Linked DNA regions of Homo sapiens: regions 1, 2, 3 and 4 are each linked to region 5. Evidence: promoter capture Hi-C in human tissues and cell types (Jung and others, 2019). All regions are on one chromosome and are shown on one strand. Each heading gives the region's core, a stretch centred on a gene start or on the middle of the fragment in contact. The rest is flanking DNA. Distances are from core to core; before and after follow the strand shown.

What was found. Contacts are between HindIII fragments. The study calls those that stand out against the background at their distance.
Region 1: a fragment that was not itself captured here is called in contact with the fragment with the promoter of BMP1 in region 5 in 1 of the 25 tissues and cell types used here (bladder).
Region 2: the fragment with the promoter of SLC39A14 here is called in contact with the fragment with the promoter of BMP1 in region 5 in 3 of the 25 tissues and cell types used here (IMR-90 fibroblasts, bladder and heart right ventricle).
Region 3: a contact is called between a fragment that was not itself captured here and the fragment with the promoter of BMP1 in region 5, in 1 of the 25 tissues and cell types used here (spleen).
Region 4: a contact is called between a fragment that was not itself captured here and the fragment with the promoter of BMP1 in region 5, in 1 of the 25 tissues and cell types used here (lymphoblastoid cells).

The regions. Positions count from the first base shown.
Region 1 is chr8:21,957,074-21,959,773 of GRCh38, forward strand. The region is part of intron 1 of XPO7 (exportin 7); the gene reads left to right. LOC124901903 (a long non-coding RNA gene) reads right to left here and starts at 1,200. Exons shown (of 2, transcript XR_007060847.1): 1 at 1-1,200. The HindIII fragment of the contact is 7,088 bases long and covers 1-2,700 here.
Region 2 is chr8:22,365,833-22,368,532 of GRCh38, forward strand. It overlaps SLC39A14 (solute carrier family 39 member 14), which reads left to right and starts at 1,446. Exons shown (of 9, transcript NM_001128431.4): 1 at 1,446-1,576. RefSeq lists enhancers at 45-545, 2,081-2,330 and silencers at 1,091-1,760, 2,686-2,700. The HindIII fragment of the contact is 10,534 bases long and covers 150-2,700 here.
Region 3 is chr8:21,977,778-21,980,477 of GRCh38, forward strand. XPO7 (exportin 7) reads left to right here. Exons shown (of 28, transcript NM_015024.5): 8 at 1-66; 9 at 2,307-2,426. Among named protein-coding and RNA genes, the nearest start is that of NPM2, 45 kb to the right of the region's middle. The HindIII fragment of the contact is 9,023 bases long and covers 1-2,700 here.
Region 4 is chr8:21,998,021-22,000,720 of GRCh38, forward strand. XPO7 (exportin 7) reads left to right here. Exons shown (of 28, transcript NM_015024.5): 22 at 735-817; 23 at 1,071-1,285; 24 at 1,516-1,654. Among named protein-coding and RNA genes, the nearest start is that of NPM2, 25 kb to the right of the region's middle. The HindIII fragment of the contact is 4,535 bases long and covers 1-2,700 here.
Region 5 is chr8:22,164,122-22,166,821 of GRCh38, forward strand. It overlaps BMP1 (bone morphogenetic protein 1), which reads left to right and starts at 1,251. Exons shown (of 20, transcript NM_006129.5): 1 at 1,251-1,432. The coding sequence starts at 1,285. SFTPC (surfactant protein C) reads left to right here. Exons shown (of 6, transcript NM_001317778.2): 6 at 145-358. RefSeq lists a silencer at 507-1,546. The HindIII fragment of the contact is 7,716 bases long and covers 1-2,700 here.

The DNA of each region.
Region 1 (2,700 bases), core at 140-2,639, 210 kb before region 5:
GCAACTTTTTGCTTTGTAGCTAATGAGATTCTCGGGAAAATCTTCCAAACTCCTGCCTAAAGAGTATGTCTGCACACTGAAATTTCTCGGTGGATCCTAGTGAGGGAAGACTCAGCGGCACTCCCACTTCATTGACCTATTTGTTACAGGGTGCCCATAGCTTCAGATGTGCTTTTGACTGGCTTGGTGTCTCTCAGTCCAAAGAGAGGGACAGTTACTGAGAGGCATACAGTGAGGAGGACTATCTGGGAATCTTAACTTCTCAAAGATACTTTCACCCTGTTTCTCCTTCTTTGGGCCACCCCACTTCACCTTAACATCTGAGCATGTAGCATAAATGAAGTTTGTTCAGCTTTTCTCACTGCTGGCTAGGGATTTGGCTTTCTTAGTTCATTTAAGTCAGTTACCATTGATTTTTCTGTATCCCAAAATTATGTTGCTGTTGTCCTCTTTCCTGTCTTCCCTATCTATCCTTGTGGGATCCTGAGGGTTTAGGGCTTGGTTTTGTTTTGAATACCTTTAGTGTTGTGTTAGTTGGGTTTGGGGAGGGAACAAAATTAGATATGTGATCAATCTGCCATTTTAATATGAATTTCCTTTGGAAGCTTTAAGAGTTAGACTTATCCAATGTTAAGACGTTCTTATGAAGCTCCTACTGTGTGCCAGACACTCTTGTACTTTGCATTTCCATCCCAGTCCATGCACTGTGCTCACTGGGATTATAGGCATGCACAACCATGCCTGGCCTTGCTTTGCCTTCTTGTTTCAGCTTTCACACTGTAAACAACTGTAAGGTCCTTTCCGGGTTTTTTTTTTCCCACTGCCATGTTTCTTGCAGTTTTGTGCTTTTTGTTGGTAATTCCACTGCTTAAAATGGCCCACAGAGTGCTGAAGTGCTGTCTATGTCTAGTTCCTAAGTGCAAGAATTATGAAAAGTCATAATTCATGCATAATTAATAGAAATGGCGATTTAAGCAAACGTTTGAGACAGTTGTACAGACATTAATATGGAAATTACATAGGCTAACAAATACTTCTATTTGAACAAATACCTTTAAAAAGTGGCAATAAATATAATTATGTTTCTATGGAGAAGTATGTACTGAATCCCACCCAGTGGTGCCAGAAATAAAACTGATCCTCATTATTCCTTGTTGTCATGTTCTGTAAAGTCACCGAGAACACTGAATTAGCAAATACTGACCCATTGCTCCTAGGGGAAGTATAGGGTTAGATTCAGGCCAGCTGCTAGTCACCACATTTGCGTCAAACAAGCAATATGTAACCATGTTTTATTTGTGTTTTTGTTTAAAGATATTTTAAACCATATTGTTGATTTATTAGCGTTAAACTAATGGCCAAAAGCACAGTAACTCATGACTGAATGAAATTTATCTAACACACACAATTTCACCATAAGTTACATCACAGCCGTCTTGCCCTTAGGAACTCGACATAGCACTTCAGCACTCTGTGGGCCATGTTAAGCAGTGAAATTACCGACAAAAAGCACAAAACTGCAAGAAACATGGCAGTGAAAAAAAAAAAACCCGTAAAGGACCTTACAGTTGTTTAGTGTGAAAGCTGAAACAAGGCAAAGCAAGGCCGGGCATGGTTGCGCATGCCTATAATCCCAAGTGCTTTGGGAGGCTGAGGCGGGTGGAATACCTGAGGTCAGGAGTTGGAGACCAGCCTGGCCAACATGGGGAAAACCCCATCTCTACTAAAAATACAAAAACCAGCCGAACATGGTGGCGCACACCTGTAATCCCAGCTACTTGGGAGACTGAGGCAGCAGAATCACTTGAACCCGGGAGGTAGAGGTTGCAGTGAGCCGAGTTCGCGCCACTACACTCCAGCCTGGGTGACAGAGTAAGACTCTGTCTCCAAAAAAAAAAAAAAAAAGAGGCAAAGCATGGCAGTGTTGAGCCTCAGCTGGGATTGTGTAAGTCAGGTAACTCAAATTGTTGACCACTCTGTCCACGTGCATGAATGACTGCAGAAGCACCCTGAGCGAATATGGATTTGATGATTACAAATACATTTTAGTGAGTAGGTGAATTCACAAAACAGAATCTGCGAATAACGAGGATCAATTATATATTTGATCCCTGATGCCCCTGGCCCTACAGGGGAAAGGGCATTTATAATCCCCTTAGAAGAAACAGTGCAGATTTTGTGTGCGCTCATGCAAGCAATAAAAAAGCTGCTATTCTCCAGAGTTTTTGGTAGCCAGTATAATCAATAATAGCCAGTAATAATTAGCAGTGTACACACATTACTTCATTGACTTTTACAACCTTGTAAAGTGGGTGTTATTTCTATGTAAAAGAAAGGGAAAATATTTGAATGATTTGAGTAACTTAAGTCATGCTCCTACAGTAGACGGAGGAGTAGGGATTTGTCTGCCACCTAAAATCTTACCCATTACTCTGTACTGAATCAACTCCAAAAGAAACCTTGTTCCTGCTGCTAGGTCACTGAAGTTGTTTGTGGGTAAAGATCCTACACTACAATCACAAGGATGTGAGTGTTACCAATTTATTTTTTTAAAATACCATTCTCACTTTAAAAAAAAAATGTCCTAATCATCGTTTTCATGATCATTTTAACTTCAATATTTGTTTACTTGGAATTCTCATTCACTAATATAATTAAAACATGATGGATAGTTTATTGCAGTCAAAGAATCTTAGAACT
Region 2 (2,700 bases), core at 196-2,695, 200 kb after region 5:
GGATATGTGTTTACGGGCTTCATACCCTTCAGAGCTCTGTGTGTTGGAAGCATACTTATTTCACTTTATCTCTGGGTGGGCTTCTCACTCCTTTTCCAGTGCTTCAACAAAAGGTGTGGCGGGGACTGGCCCCTTTCTCACAGCCCACTGCAGTGGGATGAGAGTCCCAAACGGATGACATAATGTCTGGAAAGCACCGAGTTTAACCAAGAGAGAAATAGGGTTATTACAAAGATGAAGGGGCTCTGAGGGAAATTCTGCAAGAGATATCATTACTTTGAAATCACTTGGAAAATAAATGAGAGGAATATCACCCTGCCCCCATACCCACTGCAGCACTGTAATTACGGGGTGAGGATAATTGAATTTTAGAAACGCCCGGGGCCCAGCTACACTCTTCAAAAGTAATATGAAGAATCTGACCCCCTCTGGCCTGGCGAAGAGCAAGCTCCTGAGTTCTTGCTACCGGCTCCAGCGACTGTCTGCTTTCCTTTTCTCCTTAGCGCCGCCATCACGGGGGTCCTCCCCGCAAGACCTGCAGAGAGTGGGATGTTGCCCCCTTCCCTGCGCAAATTTAGAGACAGCTAGTGCCGTCTGGGGACCAGTCACTGTGCTAGGATCAGCTCGAGTACTAAGCCGCGACAGTTGGGCTAGAAAGCCCTTCCTCCGAGCCCCCCAAGGCCCAGGTGGCAGCGGGTTCAGCTCATAGAGGAAATTGTCCTGATGTCCTGCAGAACAGAACAATGGGAGTGGAAAGGGTGGTTTATTTTCTCAAGAAATCGACTACATTTCCCAGGCCTGATATACATCTCAATGGGACTGTCCCACAGAGGAAGAGTCTCCTCGGAACTTCTTCACCCCCAAATTAACATTTCTCCCAACTTTGGGTTAGTAGGGTTCTTTAGGCGTCTGATCATTGTGGGAAGCGGTGCGGCATCAAGTCTGAAAAGTGAATATAATATGGTTTATTTGGAACTCGACCAGGAAATTTTGGTTCTTTTGGCTGGTGGAAATATGCAGAAGAAACACCATCTAAGGGCGCGTCCCCTTCTGAAGTACCTTTCCGAACTGGGGAGGGAAGAGAAAAGCTTTTTGGGTGAACCAGAAGTGGTAAAATCACATTCAAATAGAGTGGGTAGGACTCTCCTCCAGGGGGTGTGGGGTGGAGGCTAGGCGGTGAGAGCTTCCCGCGCCCAGGGAGCAGGTCTTCACGGGAGGTTTCCGGAGGCAGGAGGAGCCTGCGGGTCCTCGGGAGTCACGGCCGGATGAAGGATGGGAGCGGGCGCCGACCACAGCCAGGGCCGCGAGGCGCAGGAGGGCGCAGGCTGGCCAGGTCCCCAGCCTGCCGGCCCCACGTGGCAGCCCCGGGGCGAGCGGGGCGGGCCGGGGGCGGGTCCGGCCGCTGACGCGCCGGGTATATAGCCGGGCATGCGCGCGGTGCCGGGGCCCGGACGCAGTGAGGGGGGTCGGCGCGCGTGTCTACGCGGACGCACCGGCTAAGCTGCTTCTGCCGCCGCCGGCCGCCTGGGACCTTGCGGTGAGGCTGCGCGGGGCCGAGGCCGCCTCCGAGCGCCAGGTGAGGGCGGGGACGCCAAGGGCCGCGGGATGGGCAGCGGCGGAGGAGCCCCGCACCCCAGGCTGGGGCAGTGGGTGGGGGCGGGGACAGCCCTGCGCCGAGGACCGGGCGCCGCTCCCGGGCACCGGCACACGCCCGGACGGCTGGGTGGAGGCTGCACCTGGCCGTGGTGCCGCGCTGGCGAGGGGAGAGGTCAAGGCGCGGCCTGTCCGCCTGGAGGGTGCGGGATGCTAGAGCCGCAGAAGGGTGCCCAGAGCGTGGGTCGCCGCGCCGAAGGCTGAGCCAGGCTCCCGGATTCCCCGCGCGGACACGGACGCAGAACGCAGACAGTAGGTGGCCAATCCGAGGGGCGGCTCTTGGGGCGGCTCTATGGGGCTCTGGGGTCTGGACTTTGCTTTTCAGGAGCTGCGTCCCCGGGCCCCCGCCGGTCCATCTCCCCTCTGAAGGTACATGTACCCAATCTTCCGGCTGAGCGAATCTCCAACCTGGCTTGCCCACGAGGATGGCTTTCTGGCTATTTTTGGTCCTTAATGACCAAGTTAGGTGGTCGGGTTCAGGCTGCCCCCTCTTGGTGGGTGAGGGCAGTGGGACAAAGTCGCCATCCGAGCAGTTTCATCATCTGATCCTGAGGTCCAGTTGAGCCGGGAAAATTTCGTCAGCTCTGGACTAGGGGTTCACTTTTGAGGATCTGGTGCTTGCCAGGGCCTGGGTTCCAGAGACAGGCTTCTCTAAACAGTTAAAGGGCTCGGCTGTACAGGAGGACTCCGGACACAATTGGGGAGTGGCTAAGTGCTCTCTTGTGGCCCGAATGGAAGCGTGGGGTTAGGAGCAGCTTTGACCTGACCCTTCTTCCTGGAGCAAGCCTGGTTTGGGTTTACGTCTTTAGTGGCTCTCCCCTAGGAGCCCCAGGCCATTGGGACGGCTGTGCTCCTGCTGAGGAGTGGCCTGGGAGTTAGCCCTGGCCTCTGTCCCTGCTCTGCTCTTAACTGGCCCTGTGACCTTGGGAGGGTCAGGTCAGTACCACGGTCAGACTAGATCTCCTTAACCACAGCATATACAATTCCGTAATCCTTCCCTCTTTTATTTTATTTTATTTTATTTTATTTTATTTTATTTTATTTTAT
Region 3 (2,700 bases), core at 186-2,685, 190 kb before region 5:
GATTCTTCAACCTTGCAGCTGTTTTTTGACCTGTATCATTCCATCCCTCCTTCATTTTCACCTCTGGTGAGTCAGGACTACCGTTTCTTAAAGCAAACCTATTCATAGAAGATAGCAATGGTGAATGAACCTTATATTCGTTTTGTTTTATAAAATTATACAAGTAAAGCATAGAAATACTAGGCTAGTTATCTAGTCTTTTGAGATTAAGCTTGTAGCCTAAAGGTTCCAGCCATAAAGTCTTAATTATTTTTAAATTATTCCTGTCTAAAGGCCAATTCCTGCAGATGGTCAAGCTCTTTTGGGTCTCATCGTGTATCTGACTTTATGCTGTTCCTCAAACGGCCACAGGCTAGCACCTGGGGATTCACCTAATACTGTCTAGTTGAACTATTAAGATTGTCCTGACTCAGAAAACCCCTTAGGTGTACATTAGATTGTCATAAATGGAAACTGTGATGAGAAGGCTAATTTGCATACTTACCCTGAATAACATTTGAAAGCTATTGGGAATGGTGTATTTCTCTTTTAAAGCCATAATTAACCTAAAACCTCAAAATTCATTCACGTTCTAAAATACTATTGGTCTGGTATTTCAGATTGTTGGTGTAAATTACCGGTTGGTGTTATACACAAAATATATAAAGAAGACACAGTGAAGTAATGAGTGGTGTGCATAGTGTTTGTTCAGTAGAGGACTTTTCTGGCCATTGTAGCACTTCTCCAAATTAATGTAGACCTTTGTGTTCGCTGAAACATGATTTCAGTGTTGTCGGGTGTATCGTTAAGGTTACTGCAAGAAAAGGTAGCACAGTCAAGAGGGATGATTAAGAGAGTACTACTTGCAAAGGTATGGGTAAAATTAAGGGACACCAGCACGGGGTGGTGGTGCATGCCCCTGGGGCTGGCAGTAGTGGGGAGCCTCAAAGGGCAAGTGAAGGAAACCTGGAGAGAGTTGAAGCTGTGTCTTAGAGGAGGGCTGGACAACAAGAACTACAGCCATCACTAGAGAAACTCTGCCACTGCATAGCCAGCTGGATGGTCGGAAGAGGGGTACCCTGTTCCCTCTGCCCTCTAATCTCCTGCTGGTACTTTCCATTGGTTGAAGCCAACTAGAAGCCAGAGGGCAAGGGAGCTTGGCTGCTCTCCTCAACAGAGGTCAGCCTCCTAGGGAATAGGGCAGGGTGGAAAAGGGTCGAAAGCAGATCTAGAGGGGGCAAACAGAGAATGTAAATATCTAACACAGTGGGAACAGAGGGAAATGTCTTCAGGGATAAAGCTGGGTTGTGTTTTTTTGTTTGTTTGTTTGAGGCAGAGTTTTGATCTTGTTGCCCATGCTAGAGTGGAATGGCACTACCCATGGGTTCAAGCGATTCTCCTGCCTCAGCCTCCTGAGTAGCTGGAATTACAGGCATGAGCCACCACGCCCGGCTAATTTTATATTTTCAGTAGAGACAGGGTTTCTCCATGTTGGTCAGGCTGGTCTCAAACTCCCGACCTCAGGTGATCTGCCTGTTTCAGCCTCCCAAAGTGCTGGGATTACGGGCGTGAGCCACCACACCTGGCCAAAGCTGGCTTTTTTAGGGCCCAGATGTGATATGCTTATTTCTTTTTTTTTTCTTTTTTTTTTTCGTTTTTTTTTGTTTTTGAGACGGAGTCTCTCACTGTTGCCCGGGCTGGAGTGCAGTGGCGCGATCTCGGCTCACTGCAGCCTCCGCCTCCCAGCTTCAAGCGATTCTCCTCCCTCAGCCTCCCAAGTACCTGGGATTACACGTGCCTGCCACCACGCCCAGCTAATTTTTTGTATTTTTGGTAGAGATGAGGTTTCACTATGTTTGCCAGGCTGGTCTCAAATTCCTGACCTCGTGATCTGCCTGCCTCAGCCTCCCAGAGTGCTGGGATTACAGGCGTGAGCCACCACACCCGGCCGATACGCTTATTTCTTTATAGCATGTAATGACATAAGCACATAACATCTACATGTCAAACTCAGATTAGCCAAGAAAACTAAATCTAAAACTTTAAAGTATAAATTGCTCGATATTTTTAAGGGTGAAATAACGTATCTCAGCAAGAACAAAGATGCCATTGGAGTGGTCAAAGGAATTTGTACCTAAGGGAATTTCCAAACTGAATTTAATGGGCTGCCGTGGTCTGCTTGGATCTATGTTCTTTTCTTTTCTCTTTTTAAAATAATGTTGCTTCAGATATCCTAAAGAAGGATATTGTAGGAGGTGGAACGTTTCTGGTGAAAGTAACTGTACAGTCTTTTTAATCGTTGTGTTTGGGTTCTGCCCTGCATTTAGGTATTATCCTGCTTGGTACAGATCGCTTCAGTCAGAAGATCCCTGTTTAACAATGCAGAGAGGGCCAAGTTTCTCTCTCATCTTGTTGATGGTGTTAAACGAATACTGGAAAACCCACAGGTAAGTTTATCTGAGAATTTACATATGTATAGGATTAGTGTATGGCCAGCTGTTATGAGTCAGAAGGAAATCCATCCCAAGGCCCAGTAAACAATTCAGTCTGTTCTTCAGGGAAGACTGAAGTGAATCTCTATTTGTAGGCCAATTCTGAGATTATTTGCCCAAAAGAGGAGCTTATATCCTCCCGCTTCAGAAATGTAGGAGTTACAGGAAAGAATCACTTCGCTATAAGGAAATAAGGAAGAAGCTAGTCATTTTTCCCCCCAAGAAGTTA
Region 4 (2,700 bases), core at 132-2,631, 170 kb before region 5:
TCTTCATATAAAATGGTAACAATGCTTTGGCCCCTCTCCCTCAGTTGCCACTGAAGCCATAAAGGTCCATGCCAACTAATGGCTGAAGGGCTCTGCATTAGTATCAAGAGGCGACGGGTAGAAAGTATACTTTAATCAAGGCCGGGCACGGTGGCTCACGCCTGTAATCCCAGCACTTTGGGAGGCTGAGGCGGGCGGATCACGAGGTCAGGAGATCGAGACCATCCTGGCTAACATGGTGAAATCCCATCTCCACTAAAAATACAAAAAATTAGCTGGGCGTGGTGGCGGGCACCTGTAGTCCCAGCTACTTGGGAGGCTGAAGCAGGAGAATGGTGTGAACCCGAGAGGCAGAGGTTGCAGTGAGCCGAAATTGCGCCACCGCACTCTAGCCTGGGCGACAGAGTAAGACTCCATCTCAAAAAAAAGAAAGTATACTTTAATCAAATAAAATTGAGAATTTTCAAATAGTAATTTTATCTACTGCTGCTTTTTTTTTCTTATAAATGTTTTTAATTTGAGCAGCAGAATCTGAATCTAGCATGTTGGTCTTCAATATAGAAGCTACTTCATGGTTAAATATCTATAACTTGGTTATTCTCATATTAGGATAGGCAATTGCTTACCTTAATGTAAATGCAGGATCACCCAAGGTACTCAGATGAGAGCCTCAAGTACCCCAGTCTTCCAAGAAAACACCTCTGACTTTTTCTCCTCCTGTGCTCTCTGCTCAGGTCCCAGCGACTCCAGTTTGATGTCTCTTCCCCCAATGGCATCTTACTCTTCCGAGAAACCAGCAAGATGATAACAATGTATGGTAAGTGCTTCAGATAATCATGCCTCTAGAAGTTAATTCCAGCTCAGTCACCACACTGTAAGCAGCATGTGGGTCTCTGGCCAGTCCTGGCAGGAGCCAGGACAGCATTCGTATTGTATGCTAATACATGTGCATTAGAGTGCCACCTGTCACCAGGGGCCTACTGGAATTTGTATGCCTTTGGAGTAGGAAGGCTGATCTAAACGAGCGCTTCTAATGTGGTTGAATAAACATATATGACATGTCTACTCAGGCAATCGCATCCTGACACTAGGAGAGGTCCCAAAGGATCAGGTCTATGCTCTGAAGCTCAAGGGCATCTCCATCTGCTTCTCCATGCTGAAGGCTGCTCTCAGTGGGAGTTACGTCAATTTCGGAGTCTTTCGTCTCTATGGAGACGATGCCCTGGACAATGCTCTGCAGACCTTCATCAAGCTGCTCCTCTCTATTCCTCACAGTGATCTCTTGGTAAGCCTTACGCTGCATTGCCACAATCTTGTTCCTCATCACATTCAGCCTTTTTCACCTGAGACCAAGATTGAACACTGCTCTTGAGAAACTATGTAAGCTAGCTCCTTTTGCTCTAACTAAGTCTTCTGTTTTCCCACCTAAAAGGAGCTAAGCTATTTAAGATCGTCTCCCTGCATGCTGGAGTGCATAGTGCCTAAGCTGATTTTCTTCCTCTTCCTCTCCCACAGGATTACCCCAAGCTCAGCCAGTCTTATTATTCACTACTGGAAGTCCTGACCCAGGACCATATGAACTTTATTGCAAGCCTGGAACCTCACGTCATCATGTATATTCTCTCTTCCATTTCTGAAGGACTTACTGCACTTGGTAAGCACCTGAGGTGGGTGGGTGAGTTGGTGGGTTTGTTTTTTACCACTTAACTAAACAGAAAGAGAGAATCTTGCCCCAGTGTCCAAAAAGATCACCACTGCCTTGGGGGTTTGGCCATAACAATAGAGTATATAATGCACAGCACATGCTTATCCAGCACACACTCACTGATTCCCTTCCTAAGTACAAGGCCCTGTGGAAGCACTGAGGATACGGTAATTAACAGCATATAGTCCCTGTCCTTAAGGGGCTTATCTGGTGGGTAGAACAGACACATGAACAAACAACTGCCTGTTTACCATACTTACCACTTAAACATTACAATAGGGGTGAGTACAAAGTGCTACACAAGCCCTCAAGAATACCTAGACTCTTGGTTGTGAGGAAGTCAGGATCAAGGAAGACTGGCTGGAAGACTTGGCATCAAAGCATAAACCTAAAAGCTGGACAGATGTTACCCTGGTTAGCCAGGGAGGGTTCCTAGCAGCAGAGACAGCAAGCACTTGCACCTGTAGGCAAGAAAGAACCAGGAAATCCAGATGGCTGGCACACTAGTCCAGAGGAGTTAGGAATGAAATGAAGCTTTAGAGATAAGCAGGAGCAAATCTGGAGATCATGAAGGGGGCCCGCCTGTAAGCCGTATTAGGCTGTTTGAATTCTGTCCTGAGGGCCGTGGAAGCTGGGGAAAGGTTTCATGCAGCTAGCTCCATAAGTTTTTTCATCCTAGTCCATATGGTTTCTGTCAACCATTTTGTTTCTAGGCTACCTTCCAACAATTTTTTTTTTTTTTTTTTTGAGACGGAGTCGCTCTGTCGCCCAGGCTGGAGTGCAGTGGCGCGATCTCAGCTCACTGCAACCTCTGCCTCCCGGGTTCATGCCATTCTTCTGCCTCAGCCTCCCAAGTAGCTGGGACTATAGGCGCCCGCCACCATGCCTGGCTAATTTTTTTGTATTTTTAGTAGAGACGGAGTTTCACTGTGTTAGCCAGGATAGTCTCAATCTCCTGACCTCATGATCCGCCTGGCTTGGCCTCCCAAAATACT
Region 5 (2,700 bases), core at 1-2,500:
GAGGAGCGCTCGCGCTGACCAGGCGCTGGGGCGTCCACTGAAGCGGGGTCATCCAGGCAACTCGGGGGAGGGGAAGCTCACAGACCGGTACTTCCCACTCCCCTGATTCTCTCTGTCCATCCTCAACATTCCTTTGCTTCACAGGGTCAGTGGAAGCCCCAACGGGAAAGGAAACGCCCCGGGCAAAGGGTCTTTTGCAGCTTTTGCAGACGGGCAAGAAGCTGCTTCTGCCCACACCGCAGGGACAAGCCCTGGAGAAATGGGAGCTTGGGGAGAGGATGGGAGTGGGCAGAGGTGGCGCCCAGGGGCCCGGGAACTCCTGCCACAACAGAATAAAGCAGCCTGATTGAAAAGCAAAGGGTCTGCTTCTGTCTTCCTGCAGGGCGCAGTCCTGCCCTGGCGGGGGCCGGCCAAGAAGGGAAGGGCCTTGGGAGAGCAAAGTGGGGTTTGCCATTCGCCCTCTGTCCCAGGGCGCTGGGGCACTGGGTCCACCTCGGCGGGGGAGAGGGGCTCGCAGGGAGCCATCCACGGGCTTTCGGCGCCCTCCAGCGGCGTCTCCGGAGGAGGGAGAGACACCAAGACAGCGAGAGAGACAGAGCGCAGAGAGCGAGACGCGAGAGAGCGAGGGTCCAAGAAGGGGAGATAGGGAGACGCGGGCGGAGAGACCGACCCGAGGCGGGGGCGCGGGGCAGGGGCGGCGCGAGGACCTGACAGCGTGTCCCGCGGCGGGGCGGGGGCTCGGCCGCGCGCCCGCGGGGGAGGCCGCCGCTAGAGGGCACTTCAGGAGGGACAGCCCTCCCGGCACCCCGGGGCCCGAGCTCCAGCCCCGGCCTCGCGGCCCGCGGCCCGCGGCCCGGGCGGCCCGAGCCCCCTCCCCGGGCGCGCGGCTCTCCGCCTTCCCCGCCCCGGCTGGCGCGCGGCCCGGCCCGGCCGAGCACTGTCCCGGCCCCGAGGGGGGCAGAGCTCGGGCGAAAACCCGCCCTCCAGCGAGCTCATTTCCCTAAAAAGGGGGGGGGGAGTCGGAGGGAGGGAGGGAGGGAGAGAAAGAAAGAGAGAAAAAGAAGGAAAGGGAGAGGGAGACGGCTGGAGCCCGAGGACGAGCGCGGAGCCGCGGACCGAGCGGGGGGCGGGAGACAGGAAGGAGGGAGGCGAGCAGAGGGAAGGGGAAGAGGTCGGGGAGCGAGGGCGGGAGCGGTCGCGGTCGCGATCGAGCAAGCAAGCGGGCGAGAGGACGCCCTCCCCTGGCCTCCAGTGCGCCGCTTCCCTCGCCGCCGCCCCGCCAGCATGCCCGGCGTGGCCCGCCTGCCGCTGCTGCTCGGGCTGCTGCTGCTCCCGCGTCCCGGCCGGCCGCTGGACTTGGCCGACTACACCTATGACCTGGCGGAGGAGGACGACTCGGAGCCCCTCAACTACAAAGACCCCTGCAAGGCGGGTGAGCGCCCCCCGGCCCCCCGGCGACGGGCCAGGCGGGGAGGCGCGGGCGGGTTCGGGCTTGGGGTTGGGGGAGGACAGTCCAGTGTGGGAAGCCGGGAGCTGCCTGGTTGGCAATGCAGTGGGGAACAAAAGAACGAGGGGGAGAGGGAGGGGGATTTGGGGGACTTTTCGGACTGAAGTTTTGCCGCTGTTGGTGGAAGCTGCTGCCGCTGCCTCTCATCTTCCCAGAGGATTCCAGAGGAAGTCTCCTTGCGTCCCGGGAAAACCGGCGGGCAAGGCGGCTTTTCCTTCTGTAGGAAACTTTTCTGGCCAAACTCCTGTGCGTGCGTGTGTGTGTGTGTGTGTGTGTGTGTGTGTGTGTGTGTGTGTGTTCTTTCCCCTTCTCCCCCATCTCTCCTGCTCCAGGAGCTGGGTGTTTTCCAGCCTGTCTGGGCTGCCCTGGGGCTGCACATCTGTCTGGCTTGGATCTGGGAGGCCTGAGTCTCCAAGGAGCAGGTCCCCCAGCCACCACCCAGCCCAAGTGGAAGAAGAAAGTTTTTCCAGGGATTCCCTGAGATCGTGCTCTCTGGGTATCCCGTAGTTTAACCAGTAGCTGAAGCTTTCTGGGACTTAGGAGACAGCTGTCAAAGTCAGAGAAGCCAACCCAGAAGGGGGACTTAACTTTGTCCCTATGTGCCCAGAGACCCCCGCCAAGGCCAAGTTGGGGTGGAAAGAGGGAAAATACAAAGAGAACCCAGATATTGTATATCAGCTCTGTCACCCCCGAGACACCAGAGGCTAATTAGCTGAGGTCAGGACCCCGGAGTGTGTGTTTGCCTGTATGTGTGTGTGTTCTTTGTCTCTGAAGACTCTATGTAACCCCATCACTCCTGCTGAGCCCAGAAGGGTCCTGCCCCTGGAGTGACCAGATGGCCAGGCACTCGGGCCATTTGCCTGATTGGATGACCCTGGGCAGGCTGTTTGGGGACACACAGGGACAAGATATCAGAACTTTTCCTTGACTTCCTGCCTCTCTGACTTCAGCTCATCTCCAAATAGCCAGAGCCAGGGGAAGTGGCATAGTTGCTAGAACTGGACTGCCTGTGTGGGGCACCAGGGGCGGAGGGGCAGGTTGCTCTAGTCCTGGCTCTGGAGACCCTGTTCAGGGACTCTCCTGGGAGGGTGGCCCACAGGCAGGAATAAGAGACCATCCAATGGAGGAAATCAGGGCAAATCCCTCAGCCCTTACCCCTCTACACCTGCTGGGCTGCGGGTAAACCAGGACAT